Linked DNA regions of Homo sapiens: region 2 is linked to region 1. The links are contacts of gene promoters, found by promoter capture Hi-C in blood cells and fetal thymus (Javierre and others, 2016). All regions are on one chromosome and are shown on one strand. Each heading gives the region's core, a stretch centred on a gene start or on the middle of the fragment in contact. The rest is flanking DNA. Distances are from core to core; before and after follow the strand shown. Region 1 holds the start of GLRX (glutaredoxin). Region 2 has its middle 110 kb from the start of CHD1.

Evidence for each region. The method cuts DNA at HindIII sites, captures the fragments that hold promoters and counts their contacts. A CHiCAGO score of 5 or more calls a contact.
Region 2: a fragment that was not itself captured here is called in contact with the fragment with the promoter of GLRX in region 1 in 1 of 17 cell types (non-activated CD4 T cells); the score reaches 6.1 in non-activated CD4 T cells.

Annotation. Positions count from the first base shown.
Region 1 is chr5:95,817,881-95,824,462 of GRCh38, reverse strand. GLRX (glutaredoxin) reads left to right here and starts at 1,737. Exons shown (of 3, transcript NM_001118890.2): 1 at 1,737-2,007. The coding sequence starts at 1,801. RefSeq lists enhancers at 489-989, 1,220-1,309, 3,226-3,365. The HindIII fragment of the contact is 7,969 bases long and covers 1-6,582 here.
Region 2 is chr5:99,030,959-99,037,766 of GRCh38, reverse strand. No RefSeq gene overlaps it. Among named protein-coding and RNA genes, the nearest start is that of CHD1, 110 kb to the right of the region's middle. RefSeq lists enhancers at 1-660, 4,284-4,343. The HindIII fragment of the contact is 1,968 bases long and covers 1,219-3,186 here.

The DNA.
Region 1 (6,582 bases), core at 488-2,987:
CAGAGGCAGGAAAGCAGGAAATGGGGAGTGGTGGTGGTGGTGGTGGCTTTTAACTTGAACACAGTGGCAGGCTGAGGCACCAGGAAGGGAGGAGCCAACAACAGACCGGAGAAGAGAAAGGCTCTGAGTGAGTAGCAGGTGCAAGTCGTGTGGATAAACCTCAGGCTGAGGGAACTTAAGGCAACAGCCTGAGGGCCCTGAAACAGACCCTGGACCTCCTGGCAGGGGCCTCTGGAAGGAGCCTGGCCACAGGGTTCTGAGGTAAAAGAATGAAAAAAGAGAGGAGGCTCAGACTCTGTGGCAGAGCCTACTTTGGAGGGAAGTGGGAAGTGGGAAGTCCGGAGCCCTGACCACGTGAGGGGCCTCCCAGCCCTGCCACATCCTTTTCTCTGGACAGAGCTGTCACTTAGCTCCCCCTCCGTGACTCAGAATCTGGCTTTCTCATTTTGCCATTTTAATTCTAGTAACGATGAGAGTCACAGTAAAAAGCTGCTTCTGGGAGTGGATTTTCTTCCCTTCCCTTGATCGCAGTATGCTTGGGATTCCTCTTACGTGGCAGTCGTGGTGTCCAGCTCTGGCCTTGGCCCCGCCTCTTTGAAGATACTCTGGTTTCACCATAAAACTTCCTGGGGAAAGGATGATTCACGTTTAAAGGACATAGTTTTTCCTTGATTTGTTTATTTAAGCTACCATACACTAGAGGGGGCCGGAACTAGACCCAGGAGTAGAGGACTTTGCTTTGCGGGATAAGGAGAATGGGCACCCTGGGGAAGAGCGAAAGATTTCCTACTGTTACAACCCGTGTCTTATAACACTTGAAGTGAATGTGGTGTCTGAGTTACAACACTACTTCCCCTCACAAACAGTTAAAAGCAGAGGGTCACAAACATAGGCTCAACCAGAAAAAAAGATTCTCATTTCATCTGTAGTTTTGTATCAAGGATTGTGTTGGAATTTGCCTCCATATTAAACTGCTGTTCAAGGGTTACCAACTCAAATGGTTATGGGGTGAAGCCGGTGTCTCAGGCATGGGCCTGTCGTTGGGACCTGTGGCAAACCAAAGCCACTACTTGCCCTATACAAAGGGGGCAACAGCTGTCAGCCCCAGCAGCTTCCACTAAAAGGTGCAAGCTCTGTATTGCCCGACCTGACTTTTCAGAGAGAAGTTTTAAGTCCGAATTGTTTTGTGAGACCTCCAGATTTTTAAATACTGAGAATGAATTCCATTAAAAAGATCACAACAACAAACACCCACCATACAGTCCAAGCAAAATGCTGTGAGAGCAACCTTCATGAGGAGTGCAAAGTCACAGTTTCAATTTCACTTCTTCTAAAGAGATTTCCAAGTGTTCTGTTTCTTAAGTGATTCTGTTTGCATTTTAAAATACAACTGTATCTCCTAGAGGGAAAACAAGAATTTGCTCTAAGAAGTCACTGCCTCCTCAGCCCCTTTGTGAGTAAGCACTTTATGCTTCCCCAGAGGTGACTAAACTCTGATCATTGCCAATGGGCAGGCACTCCCCAAATGTCCAAGGACAACAAAGATACCCAGAGTGTCTTTCATAGCTACCAATGATTAAATAGCAAGTATTGCATTCCTGGGCATTGCTAACTAGTGAAGTATACCAGATGGAAATGTCTTCGAAGCTGTCCCTTTAAAACTCGAGCAAGCTACCAGGCAAACTCCGCCTCCAGGGAGGTTCCTTATTAAATAGGAGCCAACTGGCTGGGTCGGGGCTCAATACCCCAAGCAATACCTGCAACTGAGGATTCTTCCCGGGGAGACCGCAGCCCATCGGCATGGCTCAAGAGTTTGTGAACTGCAAAATCCAGCCTGGGAAGGTGGTTGTGTTCATCAAGCCCACCTGCCCGTACTGCAGGAGGGCCCAAGAGATCCTCAGTCAATTGCCCATCAAACAAGGGCTTCTGGAATTTGTCGATATCACAGCCACCAACCACACTAACGAGATTCAAGATTATTTGCAACAGCTCACGGGAGCAAGAACGGTGAGTTTCATTTTAAACGGCTAGGGAAAGGCTCCCGGATTGCCTTTTCTTGTCAGAGCTGTGCCTTTCTTTAGGATAAGGCTGCGGCTCCGTACTTCAAGGCGTCCAGAGGGCTGTGCGGGGCGGGGGGTGTGGGGGAGGGCGCCTTAGAGAGGATCTCGGTCACTTGAATGAGCGGCGGCACTGCAGCCAAAGGTCTTCACGGGGCAGAAGAGGGAGTACAGCTGATGTCTGCTGTGCGGCAGGGTAAGTGGGACCAGCAGCTTGCCGGTGAGTCCCTGGGGAATTATCTAGAGTCTTTGTTTTAAGCACTGCCAGGAAATGACAGTTTTCAGTTGGCAGGGCTGGAGGTGGAAGCTGGGGTGGAGGGCCGGGTGTGATGTGTTTGTTATTTAACATGAGATTCATGTTCTTCATTCTTTTCTCTAGGCTTTCTTTTTCTAATTTGCTCATTCTTCCTTATCTAATTCCTCCCACTGGAAAAATCTAATGTACCGTTATCTGCCCCTTGTTCTAAATTAATTATGGATGTTTCCAGGCCCCACATTGTAGGGAATCATAGCCTGGAGTTCTGGCCTGGCTCTTATAATGGCTGGCTGTGTGATCCTGGGCAAGTCACCACCCCAGTAGTCCTCAAAGATCCCAGCTGCAAGACCAGATTAGGTGACCTCAGAGTCCCATTTGCTACGAATAGACTGTGGGACCCTCTAAAAATTGCTCTCCTCCATCCGAAAGACTTCCCTCTCTTCAGCATCCTTGGCTTTGCGTCCTGGGCTTCAGGAGGGATGCCAGCCACATCACCTGTATCAGTTCTGCTGTGAGGTGGGATGAGAAATGTCCCACCAGCTCAGCTAAGTTCTCTTTTACGATGCACGAATTCTACAGCACAGTGTTAGGCCAAGCACATATCCTATTTCAGTTTTAGTTTGACTTACAAGGTTGTCTCTGGGTTCTGAGTATAAAGCATTGGAGGTTGTTTCTCTCCCCTTCTCTCTAATAAGAAGTCAGCATTTTGGTGCAGAAAGGGGGCTTAGTGTGTTATCCTACTGCTGTGTGCTGAGGTCCTGGAGTATACACAATGACGAGAGAAGCTCTTGCTGCCTAGTGGGACCACCAGCTGCATAGGATGCCCAGGCCCTGAGAGGTGTAAAGGGCAGTGCAAACACTACTACGGGCCCCACTGTGGCTGCCACCCTGAGGACCTTTTAGCCATTGGTTCCCAAACTTTGCTGCACATTAGGATCACCTAGAGAGCTTTTAAAACAATCCTTATGCCCAAATTATGCCCCTCAATAACTAAATCACAATGTCAGAGGTGGGAGCCAAGCATTAGTTTTGTTTGTTCGTTTGTTTTGAGACAGTTTCATTCTTGTCACCCAGGCTGGAGTGCAATGGTGCAATCTTGGCTCACTGCAACCTCTGCCTCCTGGGTTCTCCTCAACCTCCCAAGTAGCTGGGATTACAGGCGCCCACCACCATGCCCAGCTAATTTTTGTATTTTTAGTAGAGACGGGGTTTCACCATGTTGGCCAGGCTGGTGTCGAACTCCTGACCTCAGGCGATCCACCTACCTCGGCCTCCCAAAGTGCTGGGATTAAACGGGTGAGCCACCACACCTGGGATTTTTATTTGGAAAAATCCCTTGGGGATTCCAATGTGCAACACAATTGGGATTATTGTTCTCAGCCCAACAGCATCTATTTTCCAGGAGGTAAAGCAAACCTCTTCATGTGTTCATTTAACAATTGCTTTTTTTTTTTTTTTGAGATGGAATTTCGCTCTTGTCGCCCAGGCTGGAGTGCAGTGGTGTGATTTTGGCTTACTGCAACCTCCACCGCCCAGGTTCAAGCAATCAAGTAGCTGGAATTACGGGCACCTGCCACCACACCTAGCTAATTTTTGTATTTTTATTAGAGATGGGGTTTCACCATGCTGGCCAACCTGGTCTCGAACTCCTGACCTCAGGTGATCCACCCACCTCAGCCTCCCAAAGTGCAGGTGTGAGCTACCACACCTGGTCAACAATTGCTTTTTCATTTCTTTGTAGAACAACAATATTTCTTGTAGTAATCTTTTAAGGTTTTTTTTTTTTTTTTTTTTTTTAAGAGACAGAGTCTTGCTCTGTCACCCAGGCTAGAGTGCAGTGGTGCAATGATAGCTGACTGCAGCCTCGAACTCCTGGGCTTAAGTGACCCTCCCACCTCAGCCTCCCGTGGCTGGGACTACAGGCATGAGCCATCATACCCAGCTAATTTTTTAAGTTTTTGTACAGATGGGGGTCTTGTTATGTTACCCAGGCTGGTCTTGAACTCCTGGCCTCAAGCTATCCTCCCACCTCAGCTTCCCAGAGTGCTGGGATTACAGATGTGATCCACCTCAACAAGCCTGTTTTTCATTTTTAGAAAAATGTTTTTCACAGATTCTTGAATTCTGAGTGCATTCCTCCTAGGGGAAGAACAAGCCTTTTAAAGCTGCATGTTTGATCCCCAACAGGGAAGTGTTTGTATTCAAAGGGTCTGAAAGCTCCCGAGGGTTTTTTTTTTTTTTTTTTTTTTTTTGAGACGGAGTCTCCCTCTGTGCCCAGGCTGGAGTGCAATGGCGCAATCTCAGCTCACTGCAAGCTCCACCTCCCGGGTTCACGCTATTCTCCTGTCTCAGCCTCTCGAGTAGCTGGGACTACAGGCGTCTGCCACCATGCCTGGCTAATTTTTTGTATGTTTAGTAGAGACGGGTTTTCACTGTGTTAGCCAGGATGGTCTCAATCTCCTGACCTCGTGATCCACCCGCCTCAGCCTCCCAAAGTGCTGGGATTACAGGCGTGAGCCACGGCGCCCGGCCTGATCCTGCAGTCTTAATTATTCTATAAAGTAGCTGTATCTAGTAGGTAATCAGCAGGACATGATTATGGAAAGTTAGTGGCTTCAATCAAGCCATGTACTTGGTAAAACCTGTTTTTGTTTTGCTATAGTCACAGCTCCTAAATTAGTGCCTTCATTTATTTCTCCTCTAATGCACTTTTCTTTACATAGATCTGAGTTTCTGAACTATATCATTTCCCTTCTCTCTGAAGAACTTCTTTGGGCATTTCTTGCAAGGTGATTCCATTGGTAACACATTCCCTCAAGTTTTGTTTACCTTAGAAAGTATTTCTCCTTCGCATTTGAATGATGATTTTACTGGATGCAACAAATATTTTTAAGCACCTACTATGTACCAGACACTTTTATGTACATTGGGGAAAAAATTCTGCCTTTTCTGCCATGAAAAAAACCCTTCTGCCTTTGTTGAACCTATATTCTAGTGGGGGAGACAAACAAATACAGTAATAAAACAGTATGTTGGGAGTTGGTAAGTGGCACGTGCTATGAGGAAAAGTAGGAAAGGTAGGGAGGAAGCATCAGGGTCCAGTTTTAAATGGAGCCATTGGGTCTCACTGAGAAGGGAACATTCGAGCAGATATCTATAGGAGCTGAGGGAGATGGGTGTACACAATTTACAGGTAGAGTGAATGCAAAGGTCCTGGGGTAGACGTTTGCCTGGCAGGTTTGTGGAATAGTAAGGAAGCCAGTATAGTTGCAGCACTGTGAGCCAGTAGGAGAGTTAGTGGAGGTGAGGTCTGAGAGCTAATAGGAGCTTGGAAGAACTGTGACTGGTACTCGGTGTGAGATGAGATGCCCCTGGTGGGTGCTGAGCAGACGAGTCACTTGATCTGACCCCATTTTGAAAGGGCCACTCTGGCAGCTGTGGGGAGAAGAGACAGTAGGGCAAAGGTGAAGGTTGAAGCTGGGAGACATTGGGAGGCTATAGTAGTTATTCAGGTGACAGATGAAGGTGGCTTATACCAGGGAGGTAGCCGAGGAGTGTTGAGAAATTGCTTTTGAGTAGTTGCATTTGTGTAACCCTAGCTAGCGTACAGGAGATGTTGCCTGGCTGAGGCTGGGGAAACCTAGTGCAGGAGAATAAGAACCACAGGATTACCAAACTCGTTTTGGGGTGGCAGTTCTTTCCTCTCCTTGACAGTAGCGGACTCTCAAGTTCCTCTAAAGAGGAGGCTGGGACGGGAAGGGACAGGAGGGGAAGCAGCACAGGGTATTTCCTCTTCTTTGCTCAACTTTATCAACAGTACTTCTTGCTTTGGTTTCACTGCCACAGCACCCCCGTGCCGTCTGTACAGCCTGCCATTCAGCTCCCGTTAGGGGTACCATTCACTGATACGATTTATGGCAGTTTTGCAGTTGTCCAGACTAGAGGATGGGTGTGAGGGTAAAGGAGCCTTTCGCTTCTTTGCCAGACACTGAGCACAAAACTCCACGCTGGGAGCAGCCTGGTCACATTTCAGGGTCATCTCAGGAGGCTGGGGGGCAGCTCCAGGGCTGTGGGTTTTCAAAGCCTCAGTTATCCTGTGAGAGCACAGGGAATAGCCATGGAAATGTGCAAGATTTGTTTTTAATTTTTAGACTTTATTTTTAATGCCTACCTTCACCCAGACCCCCTTTTTAATAAAAGTGCTGTAAGAACTTATCCACAATAATGAAGCCCCTTTTCTCACCTTTCTCACTTTTTGGACAATTTGCT
Region 2 (6,808 bases), core at 953-3,452, 3.2 Mb before region 1:
TGAATGGTTCTGTCTCGCTGGTGTTCTAGGTGCCACTGGGGTATGGAATAAAAAACTCCTGCAGCTAGCTTGGTATCTCCCAAATGGCCGTGCAGTTTTGTGCTTGAAACCCAGGGCCCTGATGGCATAGACACTGGAGGGAATCTCCTGGTCTGTGGTTTGCAAAGACCATGAGAAAAGTGCAGTATCTGGGCTGGGGTACACTGTTCCTCAGGCACAGTCCTTTACGGATTCCCTTGGGTAGGGGAGAGAATTCCCAGACCCCTTGCGCTTCCTGGGTGAAGCAACGCCCCACCTTGCTTCAGCTCACCCTCCGTGGGCTGCACACACTGTCCAACCAGTCCCAATGAGTTGAACCAGGTACCTCAGTCCAAAATGCAGAAATCACCCACCTTCTGTGTCGATCTTGCTGGGAGCTGCAGACCAGATCTGTTCCTGTTTGGCCCTCTTGCCCAGGAGGCTGATAACCCAAGAGATTCTTTCCTGAGTCCTCTTCACTCACAAATTGTAAAGAATTGTATACCTACATGATAGGTTTACAAACATACCTGTCTTTTTTTTCTAATTAGTAGATAATTATCTTATTCACTCTATTCCTTATCACATATTCACATTTTATTCACATATTCATTCCATTCTTTATCAGTTCAGTACTTCATTTTCACCAAATAGTTTTTGGCTTTCCATAGAAAAGTTAAGTTTTCGAGGACTCAAATATTTCTTTTTATTTTGTCATGTGTGTGCAAAGTGTGTGTGCATGTATGTGTATGTGCACACTACTTCAAAGTAGATTGAGGAAGAGAGTATGTATATGCTTTTTATCATAATATTTTAATTATAAAATTTATATACTTCCACCTGGAACTATAAAAATCCTGGAAGAAAACCTAAGGAAAACTCTTCTGGACATTGGTCTACTCAAAGAATTCATGATTAAGACCTCAAAAGTGCAAGCAACAAAAACAAAAATAAACAAATGGGACTTAATTAAACTCAAAGGCTTCTGCACAGCAAAAGAAACAATCAATAGAGTGAACAGACAACCTGTAGGATAGGAGAAAATATTTGCAAACTATATGTCTGAAAGAGGGCTAATATCCAGAATTTACAAGGAGCTCAAACAGCTCAACAACAACAATAACAAAACAACCCCATTAAAAAGTGGGCAAAGGACATGAACAGACATTTCTCAAAAGATATACACATGGCCAACAAGCTTATTGTTAAAATGCTTAATATTACTTATCATCAAAAAAATGCAAATTAAAACTACAATGAGATATCATCTTACACAAGCCAGGATGGCTATTATAAAAAGTCAAAAAACAACAGATGTGGGTGAGGGTGTGGAGAAAAGGGAATGCTTATACACTGTTGATGAGAGTGTAAATAAGTACAACCTCTCTGGAAAATAGCATGGAAATTTCTCAAAGAACTAAAAGTTGAATTACCATTTGATCCAGCAATCCCACTACCGGGTATCTACCCAAAGAAAAAGAAATCTTTATCTTGAAAAGATATCTGTACTCATGTTTATTGCAGCATGGTTCACAGTAACAAAGACTTAGAATCAACCTAAGTATCTGTCAATGGATGAGTAGAGAAACTGTGGTATATGTACATACAATGAATGACTAGTCAACCATAAAAAAGAATGAAATCATCTTTTTCAGTAGCATGGATAGAACTGGAGGCCATTATATTAAGTGAAATAACTCAGAAACAGAAAGTCAAATACTACATGTTCTCACTTACAAATGGTAGCAATGTAACATGTACACATGGACATAGAGTGTGGAGTAAGAGACACTGGAGACTCAGAAGGATGGGAAGGTGGGAGGGGAGTGAGGGATGAAAAGTGGCTTAATAGGTGCGATGTACATTATTCAGAAGATGGTCACACTAAAAGCCCCAGACTTCACCATTATCCAAAATATCCATGTAACAAAACTGCACTTGTGCCCTTAAATTTATACAAATAAAAAAAGTTTTAGATGTACATACTTCTGATAGAAAGTAGATACAAAATCACCCATTATTTCATAATCAAAGAGTAATAAAATTACAATGTATGTCTTCTCAATATGTTTTTATATATGCATTTTTAACTTAATTTGTTTTAAAATTTTTACCAAAAAAGTCATATTATATAAATTTTAGCCTATTTTTCCCTTAGTAGTACATTATAATATTTTCACATATCAAAAAATATTATTCTATAATATGATTTTAAAGGAATCATAGTAATAATGGTGTTTTTAAGTAATTGAACAATATTCATCTTATGAGTAACTCCTTAGAGATAAAGCAACAGAAAGAATCCATAACAGCAAAAAGTGTAGTGAGCTTTTTATTTGTTTTTACATATCAAAGTAATTTTTGCCAAATGCCTACTGTTTGTCTTTTATGTACTGGGAAAACAAAGATAAGTTTTTAGAGCAGTTATAAGATAGGTAAGTTAGTCAAATATTATGTGATGGGTACTAAGACAGAGATAGTCCTACGCGGTACAGGAACACAGAGAAGAGGCCTCTAAGTAAGAATGAGAGTCACCTGTAAAGTGACACTAACTAAACTATTGAAGGACAAGGGGATTGGGAATTGCAGAACAAACAGCATAAGTAAAAGGACTGCCTAGAAACAGTCAATCATTAATTCACAAACTGGCTTGATCATAAAAATCAGTAGAGACTGCCAGGCACAGTGGCTCACGCCTGTAATCCTTGCACTTTGGGAGGCCGAGGCGGGTGGATCACCTGAGGTCAGGAGTTTGATACCAGCCTGGCCAACATGATGAAACTCTGTCTCTACTAAAAATACAAAAAATTAGCCGGGCGTGGTGGCGGGCACTTGTAATCCCAGCTACTCAGGAGGCTGAGACAGGAGAATCACTTGAACCCAGGAGGTGGAGGTTGCAGTGAGCTGAGATCACGCCCCTGCACTCCAGCCTGGGCAACAAGAGCAAAACTCTGTCTCAAAAAAAAAAAAAAAAATCAGTAGAGACATAAGCCCCACTCCTGGAGATTCCAATTTAATATGTTTAGGGTCAGGCCAAGAATCTGCATGTTTAATATGTCCCCAGAAATTCTTACATTCAGTCAAGGTTAAAAAACAATTCTAGTCCCTCCAACTGGAAACCTGCTTGTTTTACAATATAGCAGTAAGGAAGTAGCCATCCCTGAAGCTTGGAAAGTGGCCAAAGACAGAATGTGTGGGTTAAGCCTTGAAGTTTATCCTGAAAGATAAAGGACTGAATCTGAGTTTGCAGAGCAGATTAGCATTTTAGAAGGATCACTCTGTAAGAAACGGAGTATGATGTGTAAGGAAACCTTTTGAGGAGGCTAATGTAGCAATTTAGGTGAGAAGTCATTAAGACCTTAATTTAAAAAGTGGTTATGAGTTTAGGAAAGAGGAGAACAAGAGATACCAAGGAATTAAAAGCCACAGGGATTAGGGATTGATTGAGTATAAGTGAGAGTGACCTAGGAAGACTCCCAGGGAAGTGGATTGGGTGACTGGATAAGAGATATGCCATTTATGAAAATGTGGCATTCAAGTAAAGCGCAGGTTTGAAATACATAAGTTCACTTTTAGATATACTGAATTTTATTGGAAATTCAATCGTAGGTTCCATCGCAAACTCAAAACGAAGATTTGGCAGGAGGAAGTTTGTAATATAACAGTGATCGAAGTTGAACCCATGAGGAAGATAACACTTACTGTTTAAGCAGAAAAAAAGGGAACCTACAATGGAGACTAAAAAGAATTATCTTTTTTCTTTTTAAGGAAAGAATAATGCCACAGAAAACAAAGGAGAAGGACTCCAGAAGGAGAACTGCTACCGATAAATCAAACAAAATAAGGACAAAGCAAAGTTCCCTGAACTGTGCCTTATGGAATTCAATGGTGCAGGTATCAGGAGCATCTCCTCTGCACATGTTTCTGGTGGGCTTGGCCAATCAAATGTTTCCTTCCTAGGAGCTAAATCTTAAGTGGTGACACAAGGAGGAAAGGTAGTTGAACCTTAGTAAACATACATGATTATGCATGTCCACGGTTTCATTTCAGTGGTCCTGTACTTTCTGCCCTCAGGAAGCTTGACTGTTTAGTATTTTCTTCTGTTCTGCATTATACCAGTATATTTCCAATGAATATCATTTTTTCCATAAGTTGTTCTCAATTTGTTTCTTTGGCTTATAATTAGAGACCCAAAACTGCCAAGGTAATTTTACTTTTGCTTTCATTTTCAATAAGACAAACCACTGTTCTGTTTATTTTCTGAAGTAAAACAGGAAAGAGGGCGATGATTGATATAATAAAGTCATTGAGTACACAGAAGAGGATGGAATCCAATCTACAGGTTGAGAAATGAGCCTCGAGTTAGATGGGCACCTTTTCCAACAGGAAGGAGAAGTAAAAATGCCAATAAATAAGCGAATAAGTAAGAGGGAGAGGAAGGTGCCGTTTTCACTTTCTGCCCTTGCCTTTTCACAATGAAAAGGACAGAATCATCATTTGCTGAGTGTAAGAAGAGTTGGTGGTTTTGACAGTAAGGGAAGTAAATGTTTGGAATACCCACTGTCAGTTGATCAGAAGCACCTTCACCATAACTGAGGACTCAGCCTTGGTCAGAAAGCAACAACATACAGTGACATCAATTGGTATGGCTGTGTGATTTTTCTCCAAGAACTCTCAGCTGCTCAGTTCCAGAGTCAGAGAAACAGGATGGCTGGATTAAGAGTTGAAAGTAATATTGAAAGCATAATTTAAGTAGTGGACACCAGTGTGTGGAGCTGAACAGGGAAAATGGGAAGACAGAAGGAGACTAATTGATTAGGAGAAAATGGAGGGCTCAAAGCATATGGGGTCATGAGGTCAAAGGGCAGGCATAGTTCATATAAGGACCAGAAAGTTACCAAAAACAAATGGTGAGGAAAAGCAGATGTCTTGTCTAAACATGAAGCCTGTATCTGAATCTCCCTATGGATGGAGGGTTCACGTTTATCTACCTTCAGACTGCTCTACTCGGCTATCAGTCAGTCTTTCTTAGGATTCCTAATTTGTTTTTCTGACTTTCGCCCACAAGCTGGATGACCACTTGGTGGAGCTCCTGCAAAGAGAATGTCAGCCCATTGGTTAACAAGATACCCTGAAAAACGAGATTCCATAAAATTATGCAGTTCACTGTAGCCTAGTCCAGTAAATGGTGGACTGATTGAGAAATACTTTTTTAAAAAAATGTTGTGAGCTACCCTTTCCCTATTGCTTCCAACAGAATGACAGCTGATTCTGGTACTTGGAGCAACCAAAATTTCGGAAGGTTCTTTGATCTTAATGCAGCAATGAGTGTTCCCTCTACTGCTAGCCTAAGCCTAATCTAGTCCTTCATCAGTTGTAGAAATATAATATCTTTAAGAAAGGATAGGAAAAAGAGTCCATAATTAAGACACTGTTCCTTTAGGCCTAGCCTATTAATAATACCTTTAATCTACTTTACCTCGCGGGTTTAAAAATAATTCTGCCTGTTGCTTAGTGCCACCCATACTGCTGATGATGAACAATGATCTGTTGCATAAATTGCCACCTACCTTTTATTCTGTAGCAGCCATTCATTACAACTCTAAGGCCAGTAATTACCAGTGATGAAAGTGGCATTATCTGCCGTGACTTTCTGTTTGGTTTTACTTTGAAAGTGCCTTAGCTGGTTACCTTACTTGGATAGTGTAGACCGTTCGAGTGCCATAGACAACTTATTCTCCTATCCCTGGCATAGTCCCCCAAACAGTGCCTTCATTACTGCAAGGAGAGAGTGTGGCTTAATTACACTATATTCATCTCTATGACAAGCCAGACAACTCAAACCATAAGGTTTCATTACATGGTTCTTATAGTTTCATCACGGTTTATGACCAAGAGCACATACTTTCTAATGCAGTGTGAGAAAATCAAGATGTAGTTAGATTAATTAATTTGCAGCAAAATACTATCTGGAACATCAGGAAGACTGGCAGGTGCTTCCAGTTCAACTCCATGTCATAGATCAAATTATAAAATTTCAATAAGCAGTTTCTCTTCTTTTAATTGACAGATATAATGGTTACTTTTAGCTGTCATAGAATTGAATAAAAATCTGAGATAATAAGATAATAGGATGTTGACATGTTTTTAGGTGGCAAAAATAAACCTTAATATTGTGTCATCAATTTCTTCTTCTCTGCACCTATAATTATGCAGGCTGTGTGGATTTCATTCTTTTCATACTGATAGTGTTATACTATATTTGGTCACATTCCCCCTAAGATGATGAGGCTAGATTATAGATCTGGAGCAAACTTTTGCCCTTGGATTGTTGACAGGCACTGCAACTTAATTAAGTTGACATTTCTAGCATAAATTCCCAGAGATAGAAGACACCTCAGAGAATCTTTTATCTAACCTTCTGCCCACTATAGGAAATCTCTCCACAGCACACCCAACAAGTTGCTTTTCCAGTCTTCCTTGATTTCATCAGCATCCCAAATTATTCACTGGGTGTTTACTCATGGTTCTGCTTTCTTCTAGGAAACATACATACACAGAGTCAAATTTTCTACTATCAGAGAGGACAAAAGGGAAATGAGTTGTCTGACAGAGAGAAATGGGCAAGGACAAAGGGAAAATCATTAGTGGAAAGAAAAAGTAGCATTAAAGGGCAGTATGATGAGAAACAGGAAGAAGAGATGTATGCAGTTTAAGCAGAGCAATCACTTTCACTAAGCCCTTTTCATTCTCTTGCAATACTCTCAGGAATTACAGATTGGAAGGCACT